Regions from separate parts of the Homo sapiens genome. Here regions 2, 3, 4 and 5 are each linked to region 1. Evidence: promoter capture Hi-C in human tissues and cell types (Jung and others, 2019). All regions are on one chromosome and are shown on one strand. The core of a region is centred on a gene start or on the middle of the fragment in contact, and the rest is flanking DNA. Distances in the headings are between cores, read along the strand shown. Region 1 holds the start of ZFP90 (ZFP90 zinc finger protein). Region 2 overlaps TANGO6 (transport and golgi organization 6 homolog). Region 3 overlaps SNTB2 (syntrophin beta 2). Region 4 holds the start of VPS4A (vacuolar protein sorting 4 homolog A). Region 5 overlaps UTP4 (UTP4 small subunit processome component).

Region 1 (3,410 bases), core at 527-3,026:
GAGACTGTCTCAAAAAATAAAATAAACCAAAAAATACAAAAATTAGCCGGGCATGGTGGCGTGCACCATGGCAGAGGTTGCAGTGAGCCAAGATCATGTCACTGTACTCCAGACTGGGTGACAAGAGACCCTGTTTCAAAAAAAAAAAAAAAAAAGGCATGATGTATTGTATGCTTAATTCACTATAAACTGCTCTTTTAAAGGACATTACTAAGTTGGTGTTTTTATCTTTTAAATTTTTTTTTTTTTTTTTTTTTTGCAGAGACGGAGTCTCACTATGTTGCCCAGGCTGGTCTCAAATTCCTGGGCTTAAACGATCCTATTGCCTCAGCTTCCCAAAGTGCTGGACTTACAGGTGTGACCCACTGTACCTGGCAACTTGGTATTTTTATTTGAATTGATCTTGATGTCTCACACACCTAGCAACTACAATCTGTCATTTTCCCTTAATTCTAAAGAGAATGTAGATTCAAAGATACAGATACCATCTGGATCTTGATGTATTTTCACCAATATGTAAATCAATGGATAACCTTAGAGTTGTGACGCTTCTAGAAAATGCCCCCTCTGCCACAAGAATAAATGGGTTCACGAATCAGCCTCACATTAAGGTGAAGGCTGGACTTCTGGCGGTGGGGAGTGAGTTGCTCTATTACATTTTTGTTAAAGCAGAAAAGGACAGACACAAAAAGCTCTGGGAGAATCAGCCCTGGTTTTATTTTTGGTTGTTTTTTATTTTGTTTTGTTTTTGCCTCCTTGCCCAAGAAAGCCCATCTCCAGCCTCTTCCTAGACATGTTCTAACCAGGCTTCTACGGCCCCTTACGGACTCTCTATGGGCCCTGGGTCAGAAGCTGGGGCTCCTCTCTCCACACTTGCCGACAGTCACTTCCTCCTCTACAGTGTTCCATCCTGTGACCCCACTCTCTCCATTTCTTATTGACAAGAGTTCAAAAAACTGGCGTGGCATTCAGGACTCTCAAAACTGACACTTCCCAACGCATCCAATCTCAACTCCTCCCACAAGATCGCACCACACTGGCCCTCTCTACCCCACAGAGCAGCCTCCCCTTTGGGAATCCAGCTCCCCAAAGCCTGGGGTTTTCCATGGCCAGGAGGCTCCGATCGAGCCAAGCAAGTAAGGGAGTCGCCAGGCAGAGAACAATGACTGCTCCAAACACCCTTGGGAGATGGGATGGATAGATGGATGGGATGCCCAGGAGGTTAGGAACGCGTTGCTCACCTGGGGCGCGGCGGTCGGAGGCCTCGGGGCCATTCCTGCCTCGCCAGGGCCCGGCTCCGGGGCAGGAGCTGGGGAGAAAGGACAGGGCCCACTCACCCCGCTGCAACACCGACCCCACCCCGCCCCGCCCCGCCCCACCTCCGCCCCTAAACCACATCTCCAGGGGAGATGGTGGCGAGGACCGTGGAACCAGCCCGGGCCTGCCGCTCCCCATCCCCGAAATGAAAGGCTCAGCGGCCTCCCGGACACCCCCCTCCGGCCACGCCCAGTCCCCTTCGCAGGGTGGTGGGCGAGGCCCGGCTGACACCCGCCAAACCCAGGAGGGGTCCCGCCCAGACCCGCGCACTCAGAATCACCGCCTCTGGGGGGCTCCGGATTTCGCGACCTCCGGCCCACCCAGAGCCTCGGGCAGCTCCTCCCGCCCCCGCCGAAGCCTCGGTTATCTCCAATTCTGATCTGCGGAGGGGCTGCCCAAAGGGGCCTCAGCCGCACCGGGGTCGGACAATGGCCGCAGCGGTGGGGCAGAACTGGAAGTGCGCCTGCGCACTCGGAGCCTCGCTCCTGCAACCCCGGGTCCACGCCGGGCGCGCGAACTACACTTCCCAGAGGCCCGCGCGCGCAGGCCCCGCCTAGGCGGCTTCCGAAGGCGCGTTAGGGACCCTTGCGAGGGCCGAGGGAGGCGGCCAGTGTGGCTCGAGTGTGCGTGTCCCTGTATTCCAGTCACTGTCCGCCTCCTCTTTGCAAGGGGCTTGTTGCTAGCTGGGGAATCGGCCGGGAAAGACCCTGGTTTCGGGGAGCAATCGTACGCCCCTTTCGACGAGGCTGACGATAAAAACGCAAACATGTCAACAAGATAATGTCAGGTCCTGACTTCAGCGGTAAGAGTGACACAGGAAGGGAGTGAGACAGCGTCAGAGGGTGGGGCATTTACATCTTCTTCAAAAGGCAATTTTCCATTTCTCATTTTAGAGAAAAAAGAAACTTCGGACAAATCCGTGGCCTCCTGAGCAATGTGCAAAGGCAGATCTACTGCCGTGTTATTTCATTACTTCGTATCCCCTTACGCAGGATTTTGTTTGGGACAAGCAAACAATGATGGAAATTTTCTTTTTTTTTTTTGAGACACAGTTTCGCTCTTGTTGCCTAGGTTGGAGTGCAATGGCGCGATTTTGGCTCACCGCAGCCTCCGCCTCCTGGGTTCAAGCGATTCTCCCGCCTCAGCCTCCCGAGTAGCTGGGATTACAGGCATGCGATGCGTCACCAGGCCCGTCTAATTTTGTATATTTAGTAGAGACAGGTTTTCTCCATGTTGGTCATGCTGGTCTCGAACTCGCCTCGGCCTCCCAAAGTGCTGGGATTACAGGCATGGGCAACCGCGCCCGGCCCGATGGAAATTTTCAACACAAAGATAGGTCAACTTTTAGATACAGCTATTACGTTTATGTAATTATGTCTTATATATCACAGACATTCAGGCTACATTTCCTAGATTTCAGCTTGATTTCTTAACATTAGAGCATTGCATACCAACATGGTAGAAAATGACTGCAACGAAATGTTCCTGATGTCACACTGCTTTATCAAAAATATGAACATTCAAAAATAAATGCTTTATGCCGGGTGCGGTGGCTCAAGCCTGTGATCCCAGCACTTTGGGAGGCTGAGGCTGGCGGATCACCTGAGGTCAGGAGTTCGAGACCAGCCTGACCAACATGGAGATAGCTCGTCTCTACTAAAAATACAAAATTAGCCAGGCTTGGTGGCGCATGCCTGTAATCCCAGCTACTCAGAAAGCTGAGGCAGGAGAATCGCTTGAATCTGGGAGGCAGAGGTTGTGGTGAGCCGAGATTGCACCATTGCACTCCAACCTGGGCAACAACAGCAAAACTCCATCTCAAAAAAAACAAAACAAAAAAGGGAGAAAATTTCCATCACTGTTGGCTTGTCCCAAACACAAAATCCTGCGCAAGGGGCTAACAAGTAATGAAATAACACGTCAATAGCACAGGGAGGCTGAGGAGGGAGGAGCCCAGGAATTAAAAGACCAGCTTGGGCAACATGGCAAAACCCTGTCTCTACAAAAAATACAAACATTAACTGGTTGCAATAGTGTGCGCCTGTGGTCCCAGCTACTTGGGAGGCTGAGGTGGGAAGATCGTTTGAACCCGG
Region 2 (3,257 bases), core at 192-2,691, 540 kb before region 1:
AGATCAATAAAGAGCTAGGCATAATGGCACATACCTGTAATCCCAGGTACTCAGGAGGCTGAGGGGGGAGGACTGCTTGAGTCCAGAAGTTGAGAATAGCCTGGGCAACGTAGTGAGACCCCACCTCAAAAAAAATCAATAAAGAACAGATGTTTTCAGCCACTTGCCAAATAGTTCAAATTAAGAGGTGATCTATAAATAGAGATAAAGGTACTAGGATGCTTCATGAGGCACTCGAGGATTTTGGACTAGATAGTGTCTTAGACTAATCAAGGTGGTCAATCAGGATCTGTCCTCAGAACTGGAATGCGGTTAATGCAAATGAAGTTGTAAGTAAAATGGATTGTGCAACACATTCGATCTGCTGGTCTGAAGTGGGTTGCGTGGAGTCTAGTTAAAGGAAGGCCAAGAAACAAGCATTTTTATTGTACATCCAGCTGGCCCAAAGGAGATTCTTCTTAGATTTGAAAGCCACAATGCCCATTTTCTAGACATCCTTGATTTGGAGAATAGAAATTAATCCAGCTACACTAGCTGAATGGAAATATTCCTTAAACACACCTAGCTAGATTTGTTCTAACTCTCTGCTCACTAAGCTCACTTGTGATCCTGTTCATAAGATGGCCTCTTTAAAGGGATGCCACCAAGGAAGATCTGACTCAGAACCATGTCTGTGATCTGGCCAGAGAGAAATATCCTGTTGTTAACTAGCAAATAGCCATGTTTGTGTATAGATCCTTCAGTCACTCGAGCTTTTGGAAACTGCGTTTTGGTTCCTGTGGATCTAGTCACCCCAGAGAGCGTGATAAAATCCTGTGATAAAATTCTGTACCTAGCCCTGCAAAGCTGAGGACTGATCAAGCATCTCTGGGTTGGCCTCATCAAGGTGTTGACAACAGAGAGGGCTAATATGAAGCAGCCAGCCAGTATCTCCTTTCTGTTATCTCTTTTAGCTGCAATCAAAATGCAGCGGCCAAAACATATAAAGAAATAAAGTGGAGACCACAGTGCTATATCTGAAATTGTTTCAACAGCCCTGGCATTAGGCCACCAGCATGCATTCTTTCCAGCCTGCATTCAGTGTGAACCCATTGTCTAGGCATTCATCTTTCTGAAGGAGCAGAGGACAGAAGGCAGGATGTAAACTCTCTGGATGCTCGTGGTTCTTTTCTCCTGATAATCAGGGCAACTCTCTGCAAACAGCAGCAGGAGTGAAGAAGAATGGCCTGGGAGGATAAATACAGGGCTTACCCTTCTTCTCTGGAAGAGTCAACCAGCTTGATTGTCCTTTCTGGGCATCAGAGCCTCTTCAACTCCACAGTTTTCCATCTCGACACCAGAGGACCAGATTTAGCCCTGTTCTTTCCATCCAAGATAACTTTATTCCATTTTGCATTATTTGATAACTATTTCCTTCCCCTCCCCACCTCCAACTGCATCTCCTACTCTGAAATGCCTCTTGAGCAGCCAAGGGTGGCCAGTTCTGCTCCTCATTTTCCTGAAGAAGAATCTCAGCCTGAAAGAATATAGAGCTAGGTGACATATGGGTGGCCAACCGCTTCTCCTCAAGTTCCAAGAGAGTGGGCAATTAGTGAAATTCCATCAGTCATGTTAAAATATACTTTCACCAGGTAGACATCCTTCTTTCAATGCTAGAGGACAGTGAAAAATGTAGATTAATGAGATCTGTAACTGTCTTCTCTTAACTGTACACCCCTCAGGCTGAACGCGGGAGTGCTGAACACATGCCCTCGGAAGGGACCCTGAAGACCCAAGTGACCTGCACCATAAAACCACCCCGAGGGTCAGCCATGCTGCCAGCACTCAAGAGGCAGCAGGGCCACCTGCTGGAAGACCTGGGCACGGCTCTGGGTGCCTGGCCCTGCCTGCCTCCTCCACGTCCTTGGAGCCAGGTCTACGGCAGGACCATGATCTTCTTCTCCAGCTTCTGTGGAGGGAACAGGAAGTTTTTCATGATGTCATCCAGCTCTTCTAGGGCCAACTGGGCATGGAGCTTGGCCACGTCATCGGGCTCCAGACACACTACGTGCTTCAGCAGGTGGTAGAGATCCTTGAGGACGGCGCTCAGCACCTGCATGAGAGAGACAGCCATGACCGCCTGTCTACTGTGCCGGCATTTCTCAGTACGACTGAACTGCCCTCTCCTCCTGCCTGAGGAGATCTGTGAGGACATCCACAGACTTCCTGAAGATAATGTGGCTGGGTGCAGTGGCTCATGCCTGTAATCCGCACTTTGGGAGGCCAAGGCAGGCAAATCACTTGAGTCCAGGAGTTTGAGACCAGCGTGGGCAACGTGGCAAAACCCCATCTCTACAAAATATACAAAAATCAGCCGGGTGTGGTGGCGCATGCCTGTAGTCCCAGCTACTGAGGAGGCTGGGGTTGGGAGGATCATCTGAGCCTGGGAGGTCAAGGCTAAAGTGAGCCATGACGGTGCAGAAAAAAAAAAAAAAAAAAAAAGAAGATAATGCATGGCCATCTTGGGTTGGAGAAGGAGGCAGGGGTGGCGCTAGCCCTCGTACTGAGATAGGTTTCCCATTGTGTTTCTCACTCACCCCATGCCTAGCTACATGGCCTTGGGGCTTCTGCTCCCCTTTACTCCCAGGCCAAATCATAGTTCCCAGACTCCTTTATTCAGTCCCAAAGCATGGCAGAGACCTCAGGACCACAGACAGGCAAGACTGCCCAGATATGGTTGCTCCCAGAGCAAATGATTACCAGCATTTTCCTCCCCAGATCCCCATAAAGCCCTCTGCTGGCACCCACAGTACGGGCAATTATCTTATGAAACCCAGGAGGCTTTTTTTTTTTTGAGACGGAGTCTCACTCTGTTGCCAGGCTGGAGTGCAGTTGCACAATCTCGGCTCACTGTAACCTCTGCCTCCAGGGTTCAAGCAATTCTCCTGCCTCAGCCTCCTGAGTAGCTGGGACTACAGGTGCGCACCACCACGCCCAGCTAATTTTTGTATTTTTAGTAGAGACAGGGTTTCACCTTGTTGGCCATGATGGTCTCAATCTCTTGACCTTGTGATCTGCCTGCCTCGGCCTCCCAAAGTATTGCTATTACAGGCATGAGCCACCCCGCCTGGCCTAGGAGGCTATTTCTTGAGCAGTCATACCTTTCCTTGCCCCTACTTTAAAAATCTGTCACCAGGCCGGTGCGGTGGCTCATGCCTGTAATCCCAGCACTTTGAGAGGCCAAAATGGGCAGATTACTTGAGATCAGGAGTTAGTGA
Region 3 (3,428 bases), core at 456-2,955, 660 kb before region 1:
TGGTGGATTGCCTGAGCTCAAGAGTTCAAGACCAGCCTGGGCGACATGGCGAAACCCTGTCTTACCAAAAGTACAAAAAACTAGCTGGGCGTGGTGGTGTAGGACTGTAGTCCCAGCTACTCAGGAGGCTGAGGCAGGAGAATCGCTTGAACCCGCGAGGTGGAGGTTGCAGTGAGCTGAGATTGCCACTGCACTCCAGCCTAGGCGACAGAGCGAGGCTCTGTTCCCCTACCCCCCAAAAAAAAAAAAAAAAAAAATCAACTCTGTTACATTGTAAAGGACAACAGAGATCAATATCAAAACATCTCTGGTGAAGAATGGTTTCCAGAATTCACTTTAGTCTTTCATTGCTGTTTTTAGCAGAATTTGTATTTGCCCAGAGCCAGTTTAATTTTTTCAATTACTTTGTGTTCATTGTAAAAAATATGTATTTTTATCCTAGAATGTAATTAATAATCTTTGAAGAGACAATACAGAATCCATAGTACTCAAAAAAATTATCTACACTACTAGTGGTTTTCTAAAATGTTGCCATCCCTTACTGCAATGAAAACAGAGCTAACAATGTAAATACTTTTACTGGCCAACAATTACAGCAAAATGAGGCAAATCAAAGACATTTAGTGTTCAGTAAAACAGATTTTGTTTCATTTGGGCAAAGATTTACTTGTAAAGATGAATATACTTTGGAGAATGCTACTTTGTTAAAACTGGTGTTTTCCAAAAGTAAAATAACATAGTAATATATCAAAAGTAAAAGCAGTAACAAAAAAGTTTGGCTAGAATAATTACAAAAGAAAAATTAATTTTTACATTACAAAACAGTTTGCAGATAATGAATACAATTATTACAAGATATTTCAGAAGTCAGTTATATTACTAATAAAATATTTAAACTATTTTTAAAAAGGGGTACAGAGCCTTGAAAATGGGCTATTTCATCAAATCTGTTTGCTGAAGTTTGAACATCACTGCTTGTTCCAGTCTTTGCTCTCTAGACATGCCTTTCCCCTCTAAACATGCCCTCCATCCTTCCCACCACCCACACCTATTCCATGTCCCACCCTTCTCTCACTTGACCCAAAATACATTCCTACTACTTGCTCACTTATTCCAAGTTCTCTCAGCATTTGTCTACCACTTATAATGTATGAAATACTTTGGATTCACTTATGTGCAGTTTATTAGTATTTACAAACCCATTTTGGGTACTTCTTAAAAGTAAAATCTTTGGGGCTTACATATTCTATTTCTCTCAGAGTGTCTAACAGAGTGTAGTTATTCAATATGAGTTGATTAATTACATACAGCTTTAGGTCCAGCATGAAAAAAAAAAATGAGGAAAAGACTGAGAGACATTAACTGGATAACCTCCAGATAGATGCAACAACACAGAATCCAAAGCACAATTTTCCTGAAAATTAAGCCAATCATAACAATAAATCCTGTCTTTAGACTTGCTAGCTTCTTAACCCAAACTGATCCACCAGAGAGGCAGTCTATTATAATGGTTAATATCAAAGGCTGTGTAGTTTGATAAATCTGAGTAACTAATCTTGCCTCTATCACCTACAAATTCTATAACCTTGCACTGACTGTTTAATCTTCCAGGACTCAATTTATTTATATTTTATATGGGGATGATGCCACCTGACTCACAGGGCTGTTAAAAGAATAAGTTGTGGCCAGGTGCGGTGGCTCACGCCTGTAATCCCAGGACTTTGGGAGGCCAAGGTGGGCAGATCACAAGGTCAGGAGTTCGAGACCAGCCTGACCAATATGGTGAAACTCCATCTCTACTAAAAATACAAAAATTAGCCGGGCATGGTAGCGCGTGTCTGTAATCCCAGCTACTCAGGAGGCTGAGGCAGGAGAATCGCTTGAACCCAGGAGGCAGAGGTTGCAGTGAGCCGAGATCACACCACTACACTCCAGCCTGGGTGACAGGGCCAAACCCCATCTCAAAAAAAAAAAAAAAAGAAAAAGAAAAGAAAAACAAAGTTGTGATCATAAAGAGCTTAGCAGAGTAAGCTCTCCATAAGTGTCATTATTATCTATTTTGATTCCTTTTGTTTTTAAAAATGTACAACTTAGCCACTTTTGTTTTTTCTCTTTTTGAGACAGGGTCTTGCTCCATTGCCCAAGCTGGAGTATAGTGGCTCAAACATGGCTCACTGCAGCCTCAATCTCCCGAGCTCAAGTGATCCTCCCACCTCAGCCTCCCAAGTAGCTGGGACCACAGGCACTCGCCACCTCACCTGGCTAATTTTTTACATGTTTTGTAGAGACAGGGTCTCGCCATGTTGTGCAGGCTGGTCTTGAACTACTAGGCTGAAGTGATTCCACCTGGACCTCCCAAAGTGCTGGGATTACAGGTGTGAGCCAACATGCCCGGCCAAAATTATTTTAAGCCCTATAGCCTGTTATAGTGTACATAAGTTAACCTAGCAACCACCCCACTCCAGATTTTATAGTCTGGTGAGGCTGCCAACCTCAATACACAAGGGATGGGCACGTGACACAGGTCTAGATTGCAGTCTCCATCATTTTGGTAATAGTGATAGGTCCGAGGAACTGGCAAAGCAGAACTATTGGAGTCCTTCCTATCTCCAAACTGATAATGTGAGTGGTAAAAGAACCCTCCAGTTTTTCTTACAGGGGTTAGTTATTAAGTTAAGGCAATATGTTCCTAGAGCTGCAGGCACCATCTTAGCTGACTATACAGAATTAGACCCTCCACAGCAGGAGATGTTGCAGCCAAGATAATTTGAGCCTTTGGATCCCACTGAACCTAAACCTAGATCCACCCCCGGTCTCAGGAGTTACATAAGGCAATACATTCCACTTCTGCTTAAATTAGTTGGTTTTGGGTTTCTGCAACCAAAATAATTCTTACTAAAAAAAAAAAAAAATGCAAACCAGGAACAGTAATTAGTTCATGCCTGTAATCCCAACTACTCCAGAGGTTAAGGCAAGAGGATCACCTGAGCCCAAGAGTTCAGGGCTGCAGTAAGCAATGATCATGCCATTGTACTCCAACCTGGGCAACAGAGTGAAACCCTGTCTCTAAAAAAAAATAATAACAACAAATAGATACTTTTTAAAAATTAAAAATAAATCATATACGTCTATTTTGATAAACAAAGATTTTTCTCCGTCTCTGACTTCAAAAGCTGCCCCTGAGCTCTATATACTTTTGTTGAGCTCTATATACTTTTGTTGTTCTACCTATAAAAATATGATCTCAATGCAGTTACAAACTTGCTTGAAATTCATAGAAATGTGATGTTCAAAATACCAATAAAATACTGAAAATAATTTATTATTCACTTGACATGTCAAGCATTTTTTAAAAGCTCCAACAAGCTCACCTGTACCTAAGCAAATTTATTATTCTGACTTTTGTTTTACAGCTGTCTATAATGTTT
Region 4 (3,497 bases), core at 906-3,405, 770 kb before region 1:
GTATGACTCTGTTTATATAAAGTGGGTTTCTCTGTAGGCAAACCCACAGAGAAAAAAAGTAGATTAGCAGTGGTTGCCCAGGGCTGGGAGAGAGAGGGGTTGTGGGTGAGGGGTTTCTTTTGGAGGTGATGAAAATATTCTAAAAAGTGATTATGGTGATGGTCACACAACCATGAATATACTAAAAGCACTGAATTATACACTTTAAATGGGTGAGTTGCGCTGGGCACAGTGGCTCACATCTGTAATCCCAGCACTTTGGGCGGCCGAGGTGGGCAGATCACACTTGAAGTCAGGAGTTCGAAACCAGCCTGGCCAACATGGTGAAACCCCGTCTCTACTAAAAATACAAAAAAATATTAGCTGGGTGTGATGGGAGGTGCCTGTAATCCCAGCTACTTGGGAGGCTGAGGCAGGAGAATCACTTGAACCCAGGAGGCGGAGGCCGCAATGAGTTGAGATTGTGCCACTGCACTCCAGCCTGGGTGACAGAATGAGACTGTCTCAAAAAAAAAAATTAATAAAAACAAAAATATATAACGGGTGAGTTATATGGTAAGCACGCAAGTTATACCTTAATAAAGCTGTGTTTAGGCCAGACCCGTGGCTCACACCTGTAATCCCAGCACTCTGGGAGGCCGAAGTGGGCAGATCATCTGAGGTCGGGAGTTCGAGACCAGCCTGGCCAACACGGTGAAACCCGGTCTCTACTAAAAATACAAAAATTAGCCGGGCGTGGTTGCGGGTGCCCGTAATCCCAGCTACTCAGGAGGCTGAGGCAGGAGAATCGCTTGAACCTGAGAGGCAGAGGCTGCAGTGAGCCAAGATCACACCACTGCACTCCAGTCTGGGTGACAGAGTGAGACTCCATCTCAAAAAAATAAATAAATAAAATTTAAAAATAAATAAATACACCTGTGTTTGAAACTGAAAAACATTCTCGGTTCACGGGCCATAAAAAACCTGCCTGGGCAGACGGGATCTGCGGCTTCTGCTGGTGGTACGGTGGGATCTGGCTATGGACTCTTAATTCCTAACCTGGTACCCCAACTCATTCCATGTCTGCTCCTACTTCTGCCCTCCTCCACCTCCAGGTCTCTGAATGCTACTGGAACTCTGATGTCCCTTCTTCCATGAAGTCTTGCCTAACTCTCCCAGGCACTTTGTTGGCTGTCACTTAATGGACACCTACTATGTGCCAGACATACAAGAATGCTTTACCGTAATTATTCAATTTAAAGCTATCATCACAACAACCTAGAGGGCATTACCCCATTTTACAGACCAGGAAACTCGAGACCCGAAGATGAAAAAAAAAAACTAGCCCAAGGTCACTTGCTGGTGAGTGGCAGAGCTGAGATTCAAACCCCGGAATGAGGCCTGAGCATGTTGATCTCTTCTGGCCCCGCAGGACTGACAGCACCTAGAGGGTGGGTCAGTTGTTCACCCAGGTGGCGCCATCCCAGCACCACCCTGCAGGATCTAGGGAATGAATGAAGGGTCGCTGGCCGAGAAGAGGAAGTCGAAGATTGGGGAAGGGGCCGGGGCTTGTTCGAAGTGAGGTCGAGGGACTTCCAGGACCCGGGACAGGAGAGGAGGGAGCGAGACAGGAGAGGAGGGAGCGAGCATCGCTGTCTGAACGCCCAGCCGGACCCCGGGCCGAGCTTCCTGAGGGTGCCTGTGCGGCTCGGGTGAGGCTGATCCCCACGGCGGTACCGGGGCGCCGGCTACACGAAGCGGCCCTGGGGCTGGGCCAGCCGGGCAGGGCCGGAAGGCCTGAGGGTGGAGATGCCACCCGGCTCCGAGCGCGTGGAAACAGACACGGGCGGAAGCGGCGAGGGGGCGGCCGGAGCGGGGTCGCGAGGCCGGGGCTGGGAGGCGCCCACCTGACCACCCGCCCGCCGCCCGGCTCTGCGGCCCGCAGGCCCCGCTGCCTTCGGCCTCCGAAGTCGGGCCGGGCCGCACGAAGTACCTGGAGGGTTGACGTTGTCATTTCATCTCCTGGGTCCGCCCCACACCCCGCGGCGCTGCTTGCGGCCTCGGTCCGGCCCCGGGGAGCCGAGGTACTGGGTCCGGCGCGGGAAGCCCGGCGGTGGGCGCTGAGCGCGGTGCGCGGGCAGGGCGGCCGCTCGCAGCGGGAGCCGAGTCCGAGGGCAAGCGAGGAGCGCAGCCCAGAGCGGTCGGGCCCGAGCCGAGCGGCTGCCCCCTAGCGTCCACGGCTCGCACTGCAGGCACCTCTCCCTGCCTCGGCGAAGGCAGGGGGCGGTTCGAGAGGCAGGACTGACTGGGGACGAGGAGGTGGGACTAGGGCGAGACGGACAGGGGGCGGGGACGGGGTGGGTGGGACAAGGCCGGGGCGGGGCCTGGCGGGACGTACATTCTCGGGGCGGGGCCAGGGGCGGAGCGGGGTAGAATCCGGAAATCCTGACCTCGCTTGGAATAACAGCGCCCATTGAGCAGTTTTATTCTCACAATAAAACGAACTTATCAGAGCGTTGGTTTCTCCATGTTTAATATCGCACGATCATAATTAGTACCTGCCTTGTCTGGCTTTTGTGGGGAATAAATGAGCTAGCTAATGTAAACAGAGTGTGCCCCACACTGGGGCTCAATCCCTGGTGGGATGCCGCTGACTGTTCAAAGCCAGTTTTGTTTTGCTTGGATTGATTGACTGATTGATTGATACGGAGTCTTGCTCTGTCGCCTAGGCTGGAGTGCAGTGGCATGATCTCGGCTCATTGCGACCTCCGCCTCCCGGGTTCAAGCGATTCTCCTGCTTCAGCCTCCCGAGTAGCTGGGATTACAGGCATGCACACCTACTGTGTGCAGCGTTGTGTGCTAGTTTCTGGGGATACAATGATCAAAGCAGTTCTAGGGCTGGGTGTACTGGCCCACGCCTGTAATTCCAGCACTTTGGGAGGCCAAGGCAGGAGGATTGCTTGAGCCGAGGATCAAGACCAGCTTGGGCAACATAGTAAGACCTCGTCGCTAAATTAAGAAACAAAACAAAACAAACAAACAAAAAAACGCACCAGAGGCAAGTGATCCATTTGTCCACAAGTCTATCCTGTGAGAGAAAAAAAATGGAGGGCAAAAAACATCCAAGTTGAGGCTGGGTATGGGGGCTCATGCCTGTAATCCCAACACTTTGGGAAGCCGAGGCAGGCCGATTGCTTGGGCCGAGGAATTCGAGAACAGCCTCGGCAACAGGTGAACCCCCATCGCTACAAAAAATAAAAAACGTATCTGGGCATGGTGGCGCACACCTGTAGTCCCAGCTACTCCGTAAGCTGAGTTGGGAGAATTGCTGGAGCCTGGGAGGTCGAGGCTGTAGTGAGCCGTGACCAGGCCATTGTACTCCACCCTGGGAAATGAAGCAAGACCCTGCCTCCAAAAAAAAAAAAAAAAAAAAAAAAAAAAAAAAAAAAAAAAAACCAAAAAATTGGCACACCTTAATCTCTCTTCACAAAATGCTAATTAAATACAAAGGAGAGGCC
Region 5 (3,489 bases), core at 82-2,581, 630 kb before region 1:
CCTAAAAACCCCCAAATTTGATGGTCTCTATCTTCCAATATTCCAAGATTTTAGTTCTTCTTAGTTGAATTTGCTATACTCTCCACGGTACATGTGAATTATCCATTCAGAGATTAGTTTACTAACCAGTACATGAGAAGAGTGAATTTTTAAAGCATTTGAGTCAGATTGGCAAAAAAGACCGTTCCTGGGCTGGTTTCAAATCAGAATTTTTCTGTAGAACCCAAGAATGAGCAGAGGTATGCAAAATGGCCAAAACAGAAACATAACGCCAAGAGGGAAACGTTTTAAATGTCTAGGTTACACAAACCCCCAAAGTAAAAACACCCTGAAACCCATGCACTAAAGCGTTCCCCTTTTTTAATACTGGTTTTCCTTCCCTTCCCTTCCCTTCCCCTCACATCCCCTCCCCTCCTCTCCCCTCTCCCACAGTCCCTTCCCCTCACATTCCCTCCCCTCCTTTCCCCTCCCTTCCCTTCCCCCAATTTCTCTAACTTGCCCTAGTCAGTTTCTGCTTCATTTGTATTCCAAGTTTTCTACTTCGGAAGAATTTCAAGGCCCAAAGCACTTACTTCCCATACCATTTAAGGAAGTACAAATCACTGGCTGGAAAAGTTGAAAAGGAATGCTTTCTACTTTCAGAACTTTTACTTCCTCATTCAGATGATCTGTGGGCTCTCTCTGTGAGAATTACATCCTCCACAACCCACAAGATTTTAGAATTTAAGTAAGTTAAGCCATAAACTAGATTCCAGTTGACAAGGATTCTCTGAATTTACAGCTCTACAACGAGTGAAAAGCAAGTGAGTTAATTTATTATTTTATTTTGAGATGGAGTCTCGCTCTGTGCGATCTTGGCTCACTGCAACCTCTGCTTCCCAGGTTCAAGCAGTTCTCCTGCCTCAGCCTCCCAAGTAGCTGGGATTACAGGCGTGTGCCACCATGCCTGGCTAAGTTTTGTATTTTTAGTAGAGATGGGGTTTTGCCATGTTGGCCAGGCTGGCTTGAACTCCTGAACCTCAAGTGATCTGCCTGCCTTGGCCTCCCGAAGTGCTGGGATTACAGGTGTGAGCCACTGCACCGGGCCACAAGTGAGTTACTATTTAAGGCATCCTAGCCTCCATCTGTTCACAAGTATTCAATGTAGACCAGCAACTTGAACTTGTCATTTCAACCACTTAAAACATTTCTTAGAAAGGACAGAATCTTCAGTAAACTAAAAAGGTCCCTAATAGTCCAGTCTAATCCAGACTGGAAAAATATACCTTACAGAAAAAAATGTATTCAACAAGAGGCAAGTTTTTTTTTACACAGGTGACCTAAAAAGTTGCAGGTATTTTGTTTTCTTTGAGAGAGGGTCTCAAAAAAATCTAGGCTGGAGTGCAGCGGCGTGCTCAGGGATCACTGCAGCCTCTTCCTCCTGGGCTCAAGCAATCCTCCCACCTCAGCCTCCTGAGAAGCTGGGACTACAGGTGCTTGCCACCACGCCTGGCTAATTTTTGTATGTTTTGTAGGGATGGAGTTTCACCATGTTGCCCAGGCTGGTCTCAAAGTCCTCAGTTCAAGCTATTTGCCAGTCTCAGCCTCCCAAAGTGCTGGGATTACAGCCATGGCGCCCAGCAGGTATTTGTTTAAATTACTCCTATCACTGTAAAACCTAACAGGTGGGGCAGAGGCAAAGACATCCATTATAAATCTTATCATATCTGTTCTTTCTTATCAAACCTAAAATAGGCTGTCCTTTATGTGATAAATTATTGGGCTCTGTTTATCTCTCTTATAACCTCTCTCTCTCTGTTAATTCTCCCCCCAAACATCTACCTTAAATCCTCATTTATTTTCCCTTTCCAGAATGGAGGGTGGGGCTAATCATAGCAAAATGTTTTTCACCAACCCTTCATTCAAGATGTTATCAGAACCCACACACTTCTCTGCCCACACTTCAGCCCTCCATCCCCAAAACAAACAAAAACCACACAAACTGGGTTTACGCAGGCATGCAACAGAATACATCCCGAGAAGGGAAAGAAATCTATCTGCTCAGTTTAGTTAACTAGAGTTCTTCACTTTCTAATTTAAAGATCACATTAAAACTGGCCAGTTGATAACACACGTGGGAATAACAATGTCAGAGCAGGTAGAAGAGAATGAAAAATGTGAAATACATGGTGGGCTCTCGGGTCCCCATCTCTACTCTTAATCCCTAACAAAATTCCTGCCCAGTGTTTCCTTACCCTTTTTTTTTTTTTTTTTTTTAAAGAGACAGGGTCTCACACTATGTTGCCCAGGCTGGAGTGCAGTGGCTATTCACCAGTATGATCATAGCACACTATGGTCTCAAGCTCCTGGGCTCCACTGAGCCTCTCGAGTAGCTGGGACTACTGATGTGTGCCCAGCTCCTGTATCTTTTTTTTCATATTGTATTTCTTTAGGGATAGGGTCTCCCTATGTTGCCCGGGTTGGTCTCTGGACTCAAGGATGCTCCCACCTTGGCCTCCTAAAATGCTGGGATTACAGGCATGAGCCACCATGCCTGGCCCTTCCATACCTTTTGAAACCAGCACATAACAGGTAAAAAGGCAGTTAATGGGACTGATAACCCAAGCTTTTTTTACTTTTAAATAAAATTAACGGCTGACTGTCAAAGGTCAAAGGCATCTATTTTTTAGATGGAGCACTCCCTTATAATGCTGGAGTTGAAATTCTTCCTTGAACTCTAAGGCTGATTATGGTTATTAGTGGTCAGGCTATCCTGGGTAAGTAATTACGGTCCTCTGCCCTCCAGGGCGAGGATGGGCAGATTCCTACGCAGTTCCATGGGCTGGGGGCTGGCAGGAAGTGAAGGCTATCAGCTCTCTGAAGCCTTAGGCATGTAATAGGGAACAGAACACAAATATCTTTTCTTCTGAGATTGCGGCCTACAGAATAAGCAGGACTCAATCAACATTAGATGAGTTTGTAGCTACTGAGCACATTATCCCCAATACAAATACCTCATTTGGAATTTCCATTCATTTTCATTCAATGAAGGGAAATGACTGTCCATTATTTTGGAAGAAAACATTTATAATGACTAGTCCTCAAGAATAACTTGTTTTATTACCATGATTTGTGAAAAGCAACAGGGTAGACAGTTCAAGGAAGGACACAGACAGTGCCCTGTTTTAGGTTCCAAATTTCTTCTTTTTAATGGGTGGTGGGAGCTGAGCAATGATGTCATCCAGAGGCCGTTCTACTGCCACGAGTGTTCTTTCATCCAAAAGATCCATGAAGAGTAGAGGCTGCAGAGGGATGATAATTATTCTATCAGGACTTAGGATCCAGGGCTAGTCCTGAAAGAACTGACTGTAGGTAGACACCATCTAAGCTAAAAGGTTAGCCTAGTTCAAGGCTCAAATGATTTAAATTTCTTGACAATCTTTCCTGCCCTGGGACTCAAAATAGTTGGAATGCATAAAAGCTTTTTTTTTTATTTTTTAGAGATCTTGC

Evidence for each region. Contacts are between HindIII fragments. The study calls those that stand out against the background at their distance.
Region 2: a contact is called between a fragment that was not itself captured here and the fragment with the promoter of ZFP90 in region 1, in 2 of the 25 tissues and cell types used here (dorsolateral prefrontal cortex and spleen).
Region 3: a fragment that was not itself captured here is called in contact with the fragment with the promoter of ZFP90 in region 1 in 2 of the 25 tissues and cell types used here (bladder and liver).
Region 4: a contact is called between the fragment with the promoter of VPS4A here and the fragment with the promoter of ZFP90 in region 1, in 3 of the 25 tissues and cell types used here (dorsolateral prefrontal cortex, lymphoblastoid cells and mesenchymal stem cells).
Region 5: a fragment that was not itself captured here is called in contact with the fragment with the promoter of ZFP90 in region 1 in 4 of the 25 tissues and cell types used here (H1 embryonic stem cells, dorsolateral prefrontal cortex, lymphoblastoid cells and 1 more).

Annotation. Positions count from the first base shown.
Region 1 is chr16:68,537,657-68,541,066 of GRCh38, reverse strand. It overlaps ZFP90 (ZFP90 zinc finger protein), which reads right to left and starts at 1,776. Exons shown (of 5, transcript NM_001305203.2): 1 at 1,588-1,776; 2 at 1,242-1,309. The coding sequence starts at 1,274. The HindIII fragment of the contact is 20,432 bases long and covers 1-3,410 here.
Region 2 is chr16:69,082,320-69,085,576 of GRCh38, reverse strand. TANGO6 (transport and golgi organization 6 homolog) reads right to left here. Exons shown (of 18, transcript NM_024562.2): 18 at 395-2,092. The coding sequence ends at 1,916. It also overlaps a transcript of HAS3 not described here. Among named protein-coding and RNA genes, the nearest start is that of HAS3, 22 kb to the left of the region's middle. The HindIII fragment of the contact is 8,371 bases long and covers 1-3,257 here.
Region 3 is chr16:69,194,928-69,198,355 of GRCh38, reverse strand. All of the region lies in intron 1 of SNTB2 (syntrophin beta 2), which reads right to left. Among named protein-coding and RNA genes, the nearest start is that of SNTB2, 9.5 kb to the right of the region's middle. The HindIII fragment of the contact is 9,382 bases long and covers 1-3,428 here.
Region 4 is chr16:69,310,008-69,313,504 of GRCh38, reverse strand. VPS4A (vacuolar protein sorting 4 homolog A) reads right to left here and starts at 2,155. Exons shown (of 11, transcript NM_013245.3): 1 at 1,973-2,155. The coding sequence starts at 1,993. RefSeq lists silencers at 1,691-2,240, 2,301-2,440 and enhancers at 1,383-2,332, 2,333-3,283. The HindIII fragment of the contact is 10,929 bases long and covers 1-3,497 here.
Region 5 is chr16:69,168,613-69,172,101 of GRCh38, reverse strand. UTP4 (UTP4 small subunit processome component) reads right to left here. Exons shown (of 17, transcript NM_032830.3): 17 at 3,081-3,281. The coding sequence ends at 3,165. Among named protein-coding and RNA genes, the nearest start is that of SNTB2, 17 kb to the left of the region's middle. The HindIII fragment of the contact is 7,652 bases long and covers 1-3,489 here.